2 separate regions of the Homo sapiens genome follow, and region 1 is linked to region 2. The links are contacts of gene promoters, found by promoter capture Hi-C in human tissues and cell types (Jung and others, 2019). All regions are on one chromosome and are shown on one strand. Each heading gives the region's core, a stretch centred on a gene start or on the middle of the fragment in contact. The rest is flanking DNA. Distances are from core to core; before and after follow the strand shown.

What was found. The method cuts DNA at HindIII sites, captures the fragments that hold promoters and counts their contacts. A contact is called where the count stands out against the background at its distance.
Region 1: a contact is called between a fragment that was not itself captured here and the fragment with the promoter of PIGK in region 2, in 1 of the 25 tissues and cell types used here (dorsolateral prefrontal cortex).

What each region holds. Positions count from the first base shown.
Region 1 is chr1:77,267,787-77,272,629 of GRCh38, forward strand. No RefSeq gene overlaps it. Among named protein-coding and RNA genes, the nearest start is that of AK5, 12 kb to the right of the region's middle. The HindIII fragment of the contact is 4,816 bases long and covers 1-4,080 here.
Region 2 is chr1:77,217,632-77,222,123 of GRCh38, forward strand. It overlaps PIGK (phosphatidylinositol glycan anchor biosynthesis class K), which reads right to left and starts at 1,799. Exons shown (of 11, transcript NM_005482.3): 1 at 1,679-1,799. The coding sequence starts at 1,771. It overlaps LOC105378808 (a long non-coding RNA gene), which reads left to right and starts at 1,889. Exons shown (of 3, transcript XR_001738109.2): 1 at 1,889-2,022; 2 at 3,157-3,362. RefSeq lists an enhancer at 1,483-1,592. The HindIII fragment of the contact is 8,221 bases long and covers 1-4,492 here.

The DNA of each region.
Region 1 (4,843 bases), core at 423-2,922, 50 kb after region 2:
CTAATTTGAGTATTAGACTTCTACATGATTCATATATTGATAATGTAAATCAACAACTGATTCTGAACTCCATCTGATTTTTTTCATCTGCTTTTAAAAAAGCAAATATGACAAAAAGACAAGGTGAGGCAGAGCCTATAGCTAGAAAGCACTCAGTGCTCATAGATGAGTGGGGAAGAGGGACTGACAACAGAACATTTGAATTTGCAGGTGCCTCAGAACATCCGGGAGTATGATTGCTATAGTTGTAACATAGAAGAGAGTCATTGTAATCACAGGCAGCAGAAACATCGGGGCAGTATTGAAATTGTGAGTACACATGATTAGGAGATCAGATCTGAACTAAGAAAATTCAGACAGAAATATTTTTATTTAAATAATAAACGATAGATATCTAGGTATAGGAAATATCTGGATGCTTTACAGCTTCTCTATTTTCATATCGATGGTGTGGGTTTGCGTACATTATGTCATCCTGAATTAAGAAGCTTGAATGATGTTTGTTTTTGCTGTTTTTTATTTAATGGATGTTAGTAAACATCTTTTTTGGTGTAGAGAAATGCTATGGATAAATAGGAAAAATAAATTACCAGAAACAAAATCTCAGTATCCTTTGTTATTTACGTGATTATAGAATTGGTAAATTATACTATTTTAGGAATACATTCTTGTTATTTGTTATTCTTTTCACAAATAGCCTGTTTTCTCCATACTTTTTCCATCTAGACATGTACCTATTCAGCTCTTTAGAAGGAATTAAAATAATTTTTTGATGTTTCAGGACAAAATACTCCTACTAGTTTGGAGGAGAACTGGGAGCTAAAAATAATCTAATTGGCAACCTTTTGAGAATTAAATAAAAAATTCTCATCTCTCCATTTCCACTGTCTAAAAAACAAGTCTCAAGGATTTCATTAATGTCTAAAGTTTATTTTCACATTTTATTTTTATTTATTTACCTATGATTTATTAAGGAAGTATATTTTAGCTTAAAGATTCTACAAAGTAATACCAATAACAAACAGACTTTAACCTCAGTGTGGTTCTTGGCAATGCAGGCTGTCTATAATATATAGTAGGAAAATTGGCTAAGAGATTCATCAAAACTTATTCATACAAAGCAAATAGTAAGCAGGGACCAGAGATTCTGACTTCCCTGTTATAGAAAAAGTAAGACTTGCGAGAAAGGTGGGGGAAAAAAGAAAAAGAAAAGTAACACAGCCACAGCATATAGTAATCATACTAATAGTAATTGCCATTGTTTGTGTGTCAGGAACTGTATTTGAACTCTGTGCACGTTATTTTTAATCCTTATACAATCCAACAGGGTAGCTATTATTTTATCTTTTCTAAAGATAAAGAAATTGAGGCAGATAGATTAAGCAATGTGCCCAAGACCACATACATAATAGGTGACAGAACTGAGAAATGAAGCTGCTCTACTTCATTTCAAAATAGGCTCTATCATAGATCGTTTTTCTGCATCACACTACTTCTACAATACATTGCTTCTTAAAACAATGTAATTATTCAGACTTTTTGTGATCCAATTTTTTCTTTACTCAATGTGTAGGGAGTCAGAAATCCAGACTTGAAAACCCAGCTATACAACATCAATATACATACTTTATTTTGTTTATGACCATTCTAGACTTCCCCTGAACCCCTCATTCATTGTCTTAAAGCTTAGTGTCATATAATCATTTAAATACCCATTTGGGTAGTACTCAGTCTTAGATAAACATATATCAGCTCTTAGGCGGCCTTCCCTTGCCTCCCTTCCTGAAATCATCATCATGTGATGAGGGCAAGATGTGGCCTGGTGAGGATGTGACAGAAAAAACTTCTCAGACACCAGATCCTCTGCCTCCTCTGGTCTGCTGGATGATGTCCTTTGTTTAGCTGTTGCTTGACCTAGAGCTATTAGAACCCAAGATCTGAAGCTCATACAATTCATGATCTGGAATCTACTGGCTTAGTTAGGGGTCAGTCTCCCCAACTAACTCTGCCTCATCTCAGGGAAGGGAAAGGGATGAATGTATTCTTACTAGACTACCCAGGGTTACTGGATTGATGCAGTCTTTCCTGGATGTAACCACTGTGCTCTTTTATGACTGCTTCCACCAGTGTGGTGGCAGAGTTGTTGTCCCCTTTCTGTGATTTTCACCATTGATCCAGCTTCTGACCTACTGTCTCAGTATGGGATGAGTGGGGACCCAACAGACTCAGATCCCTAAAACTCTCCATGGTCACTGGTGGTACTTTGTGAGACTGGGCCTGCTCAGTTGGAGAATACCTATTTAGCATGAGGCTACATCCTTTTTATGCAGGGCCCCTTCCTTTCATGCTGCAGCAATCCCCAGCAAGCCTGTGCTCCCTCCCATCTCATAGACTCTCTGCTGTATCTCTTGGGAGTAGTGAGCTTGCAGGGAAAGTTCTTCTCTCAGACCACCTGGCTTACTACAGTGATACCATCTCTTGCCAGTGATCTCTCCCTCACTCCAATAGCCCTAGGGCAGAACAGCAAGCCCTGGGTCCGCAGACAACCACCAGGATTTGAGATGTCAGACTTTTCTTTTCTTTTTTTTTTTTGAGATGGAGTCTTGCTCTTTCGCCCAGGCCGGACTGCAGTGGCCTATCTCGGCTCACTGCAAGCTCCGCCTCCCGGGTTCACGCCATTCTCCTGCCTCAGCCTCCCGAGTAGCTGGGACTACAGGCGCCCGCCACTACACTCGGCTAATTTTTTGTATTTTTAGTAGAGACGGGGTTTCACCGTGTTAGCCAGGATGGTCTCAATCTACTGACCTCGTGATCCGCCCGCGTTGGCCTCCCAAAGTCCTGGGATTACAGGCGTGAGCCACCGCACCCGGCAGAGATGTCAGACTTTTCTTCTGCCAGCCCGTCCACAAACTTTAGGAGGGCATCTCTTGGCCTACCTTCCTTCAGCTTCAAGAAAGGGAAGCATTTGAGTGTTTCCTTCTTTCCTCCATGAAAGAGGAGGAGATAATCCCTAAAACACTCTACTCTCCCAGTCCCCCGGGGCTTCTTATCTTTCTCACTGGTAAAGATCATCAGTTCAGTTTGGCTTCTTTCACCTGGGAATAAACCAGAAGTCTCTTACCAAGAACAGGGCCTCTGTTAAAACTGAGCACTACAAACTTCAGTAATTTTATTCTCAATCAGGTGTTATCTCTTATAACCCCACACTATTTGTCACCTGGAGCTGGAAAAGGTCTCCCATAATACTTCACACTGTCCTGTTAGTCATCCAAAATGATGTCAACTCATTTAAGATTCAAGACATTTTATTCATTTTTCTTCAATTCTTAATATAACTGTGTTTTTGTTTGTGTTTTTTTGTTTGTTTAACAGATTTCTTTCATTTCCCTTCATGTGGTGGTTTCCATTATGGTCACTGAAAGTTTGAAAATTTATAAAATAACTGCCTTCTGATCATTGTTACTGGTATTTTTTAAGGAATAATTTTAATCAGATGCCCTTTGTACAAAACACAGTTTTTCACAAAGCAAGCACAGAATCATAAAACTCAGGTGTAAAAGAGATGTTACACATCAGCTGAACCAAATTTCTTCTTTTACAAATGAGAAAACTAAGACTCAGAGGGTTAAGTAATTTGGCCAGTGCCATATTGCTAGTTAATTAGCAGGGTTTGGTCAGGACTCCCTAGTCCTTCAGAACACATATAAATCTTGTAGCTGGAATTATTTGTGTAATTGTGAATGTACAGTCTGACTTACTCCACCCCCAAACACACATACACACACACACTTAAGCTCTTTCCAGGGAGGAATTATCTGTTTTGTTCTCTGCTGAATCCCCAGTGCCTATCACAGGCTCTTGAATATAAATATCTGTAAAATAAAGGAATGAATGAATGAGTGGATATATTCAACAGATATGTGTGCAGATACTACTATTATGTAGATAGCAGTGCTTGGTTTGGGAGATGTAAAGATGAATAAGACAGGGTCCTGAAGAGAGGCGGACACAGAAACCAAGGGCACAGGAGCCCAGGGGAATGATTCATTCTGGGAAATTGTGTTTCTTCTGGTCCTGCATTGGGAAGACAGCTCTAAGGAATATGTACAGAGAGCTGCAGCCCTGAAGACCTTCATCACCTCCTGCAAGATCCAGCACATAGATCTCCACTCAAGACCTTGCACACTATTTCCTCTTAGACAATTGCATATTGCATTTCTGTTCTGTTTTATTCTAGAAGAGTGGCTCATAGTAAGTTAAAAATATACCAATGTGTCCACAATTTCAGTGGAACAGATGACTCACAGTTCAAATCACATGAAGGGAAATGATTATAAGTCAGCTGTGAACTTATTGGTTCCAGAATAATTTAAGGCACTAGCCTGCCTAGTTCAATGAAGACACTGGTGGAATTTTTTCCATATGTGGTTCATAATCACATGTAGAATTGATTTCCCAGTCTCCTCAGGAGCCTTTTGATGTTGCTATGTGGTGCTATAACATTAGAGAGGCTATGTAATAGTCAGGTTCAATATTTTTTCCATCAGTGAGGGCACCAAAGGAGAGAGATCAGGTTCCTTCTTTTCTGTGTTCACATTCAAACTTCCAGTCATGGGGCTGTGAAGAAGGGAGTGCTCTCAGCTCATAATAGCCACTCAACAAATTATTACCAGATCCTATTTTCCTAACAACTAATGAGAAAGTGGTATGTGCCACTAAAAAAGAATGGTGAACACTTCCCCAGGGGCATAAGTTATGCCCATCTATTAGATTTACCTTCTCTCAGGAGGATGCCCAGGTTGGGCACTCCACCCTATGACTGAGGTAAAGGTGAAGGTGCAGC
Region 2 (4,492 bases), core at 549-3,048:
AAAGGAAAAAACAACGACTCAAGGCAAAACATTTAGGAAACTGTTGCTCCTATCTCTAAGTGAGATATGATGGAATAACAGTACAAACCATACACGGGTTATAGTAAATGAGTGCTGTATCAAGTGTACAAATTACAAGAGTAAAGGCAAAGGTAAGAGATAGGGAAACGTTCTACAGAGGTTATGCCTTTACTGTATCTTAGCACATGAACAGAGGAAACACAATGTATAAAATATTGTAATGTGAAAAAGCACAGCAATTATGTAACTACAAAAAACAGTAATAGTATCCAAGATGAAGCAGTCAAAGTTAGAATAAAGGAGGGAAACAGAACTTCTATTTACTCATATTTATGTTCTCTAAAAATTATGCTATATAAACATCAAATATATAAATTAACAGTAATTCATAAATATATATGAAGTTCATGCTCAATATCTTTTTTTAACTGATAGGGTGTGTATTCAAAAAGTTTGGAGTCCACTGGTCTAAGCTCAAGGTGCCCAGGTGGTGGGGAGAAGAGGTTCCAATATGGAACACTGGAAAAGTAGGCAAGCACCAGGTCATAACGTTTAGACTTTATTCTGTATGCAATTAATAAATATTTAAAAGATTTCATCAGAAGAATAACCTGATCAGGCTTACATTTCGTGTAGACGAATCTAGCACCAAACTCAGGGAGTATGGAGGCCTATGGAAAACAAGATAAAGTAATCGCAAGAGTCTAGACAAGAAGTGATCACAGCCTGAATTAAGTCAGTGGAACTGGAGAGGTGAGGGCAATTTTAAGAACTCAGATCACAAAATTTAGTGATAATTAGAATATGGGATAAAGAGATTAAGACTCTCAGGTTTCTAGCTTAGGAGCAGCACATCTGGTTGAGAAATGGAGGAGAAAAGGGGTGCTTAGTTTTTCAGTGTCTTTTTAAGAGGAGGTAGGATAAGCAGAAGATAAAACTTTGCACACGGATTTTCAAATGTCTCCTGACTATCCCGGATTCTTAGTCAGCTGGATATGCAGGCCTGAAAAAGATACCAGACATCTAGATTGTAGACCGGGACTGAGGAATCATCAGAGTATGGTGAATAGTAAAAGCATTATAGAGCACCAGAACATCCTGTGTCCACGTTTAAAAATGGGAAGCTGGAGGAGCCCAGGATAAAACTAAGCACCCCTTTTCTCTTCCATTTCTTAACCCAGACGTGTTGCCCCTAAGCCAGAAACTTGAGAGTTTTAATAAACACTTATATTTATCCCATGTTCTAATTATCACTAAATTCTATTATCTGGATTCTTAAAATTGCCCTCATCTCTCCAGTTCCGTCTGACTCCTATCAAAACAGAGGGCTGCAGTTGAGTAGTAGGAAAGCAGTTGCTGCACACTGACATTTCACGAGCCTCTTGCTCGTATTTCACCTAAGAACTGCACACATGTAGGAGCAAAGGATCAGGTCCTCCTCTGTCTCCGAGGGTTTGATTATTTCAATTCATCGTTTTAAAACGCTGAAACAGACCAACAGTGTCCTAACCCGTGCCCAGTGATACCCTCCTCAAACCCAGCCTGGGTCAGGGGCTGATTGACTCCAGGAGGCGTCCCTCAGCTACTGTGTATCGGACATCTGCTGGAGGGCTCACAGCCGGCCTCCCGGCTGTGGTCAAATGAGCCTGACTCCTACCTCGATATGACTAGCGGCCACGCTGCCGAAGGACAAGAGCAACACAGTTGCCAAGACAGTCGCAGCCCGGCTGAGGCTGTCGGTGACGGCCATGTTTACCGGCTTCAGACTTCCCGCACCTGAAGGGGCGGAGGCAGTGCCGTAAAGTAGCGCTGCGGGTTTTTGCGACACCATCCGCGCCTCTTCGAGGTGGCCCTCTGGTCCGGCTTTAGAACTCTGCGGTTTTGTGGAGCTCGAGAGTCCGGGACAAGGTAGACGCAGGATATTGACCTTTTTATTTTTAACTGCATTTTCAGTTTGGAGGTTGTAAAATAGGTATAACATTTAAGAAAAAAAATTGAAAGGTGAGTGGAGGGAAAACCCGTAACTCCTTAAACTTTAAAAACTTATTTCTCTGTTCCCTTATTTATTTTATTTATTTATTTATTTATTTATTTATTTATTTTGCCGAGTGCTGCCAATTCTTTGAAAATATGAAGCTGGATGTGGTGGGAAGAACAAGCGTTTTGGCACAAAAAGATGATTAATTGGATAAACTATAAATGGAAAATGTGGGTGGGCGCTGCAATTTAGAGGCTTGGGGTCTACTACCTGGTGAAAGGATTAACATGGGAAGCTAGTTACGTTTTTGTTTCTTGAGTATCTTCTGTAATTATGGAACTAAAGCCTATCTGGAAGAGACACAGCTGGTGTATATGTATGGTCCACCATTCTCTTTATTATGTGAGTTCAGTTTTAATTTATGCATTTCATCTAGTATGACATAAACGTTTCCACGCTGCTTCCTCACAATTTTAACATTTAATGGTGAGATAAAATTCCATCCATTATTGATGCCTCAGCCAAAGTAATTGTCCCTCTGCTGCACAATGCAAAGTTTTTAAGTTTTACTATGAAAATAATATTGTAAAGAGTATCTTTTGTGTGTTTGGCTTTTTAAATCTGTTGAATTATTTTGTTTGTATAATTTTCCTGAACTAGGAATTTGGGGTCAAAATATTCCAAAACATTTTAATAACTATAAATGATGTTGCTTTCCAAAATGAACAAGCTTACAGCACTATCAGAATACACAACACCAAACCATACCATTTTTTTTCCTTTAAATTCTTTGGTATGAAATGTTACCCCTAGGTAACTATACTTATAATTCTTTGGTTACTATCAAGATCTGATGTCTTTCTTGTGTTTCTAAACTATCTCTGTGTCCTCTGATGTAAATTCTTTGTTTATATATTTATGTTTTGCATATGAATTTGAATAATATATTTATAAATAAGTAACATTAGCCTTTGCCATATTTTATGCTATTGCTTTTCCCATTCTCTTGTCTCTCTTTTCCTTTTATTTGTTTCTTTTGCTATTGCACTTTGTGAGAGGTTTCATGCTATTTAGTCAAATTTAGGTTTTCCGTTACGTGAATCCTAGAAAGTAAATACACTGCCAGAATATCTTCCATGTATTCATTAATTCAACAGATATCTATTGGATGCTGATGATTATGAAACAAAGTAGCAAAGATAAGAAGCCATTTGCTCATTCTGCTCCTTTGCCAGCAATATTTCACAAAGCCCCTGACTCATTGACTGTGAGCAGCCTTGTGGAAGAATGCCTTGAAGACCATAAGCAGGATAGGGAATAGGTTTGCACATCTCTTGCCTGAATCACTGAATTTTTACAAAAGGTAAGTTTGGTGATCCTAGCCCTTGCCTCTTCCTGTACATAAGATAATGTCTGACAAGATTAATGATTATGCCTCAAATTCATGACCAGATGTAACTTCATACCCACACTTTGATGAGACTTTACTTGTATTAACCCATTTTCATACTGCTATGAAGAAATACCCAAGACTGCATAATTTCTAAAGAAAAAGGCTTAGTGGACTCACAGTTCCACATGGCTGGGGAAGCCTCACAATCATGGTAGAAGATGAAGAAGGAGCAAAGGCACATCTTACATGGCAGCAGGTGAGAGAGCATGTGCAGAGGAACTACCCTTTATAAAACCATCAGAGGCCAGGTGCAGTGGCTCACACCTGTAATCCTAGCACTTTGGGAGGCCGAGGCAGGCAGATCATCTGAGGTCAGGCATTCAAGACCAGCCTGGCCAACATGGCAAAACCCCATGTTTCAAAATTAGCTCAGTGTGGGGGCACATGCCTGTAATACCAGCTACTAGGGAGGCTGAGGCAGGAGAATCGCTTGAACCTGGGAGGCAGAGGTTGCAGTGAGCCAAGATCACGCTACTGTACTCCAGCCTGGGCAACAGAGCCAGACTTTGTCTCAAAAAATAAAATGAAATAAAATAAAAATAAATAAATAGATAGATAAATAAAACCATCAGAGCTCGTGAGAACTCACTACCATGACAACATGAGGGTAACTGATCCCATAATTAAATTACTTCCCATCAGGTCCCTCCCTTGACACTTGGGGATTATGGGAGCTACAATTCAAGATGAGATTTGGGTTGGGACACAGCCAAACCATATCATTCCACCCTGGCCCCTCCAAAATCTCCTGTCCTCACATTTCAAAAGCAATCATGCCTTACCAGCAGTCCCCCAAAGTCTTAACTCATTTCAGCATTAACTCAAAAGTCTACAGTCCAAAGTCTCATCTGAGACAAGGCAAGTCCCTTCTGCCTATGAGCTTGTAAAATCATAAGCAAGTTAAGTTACTTCCTAAATACAATGGGGGTACAAGCATTGGGTAAATACACCCATTCCAAATGGGAGAAATAGGCCAAAATGAAGGGACTACAGGGCCCATGCAAGTCCAAAATCCAGCAGGGCAGTCAAATCTTAAAGCT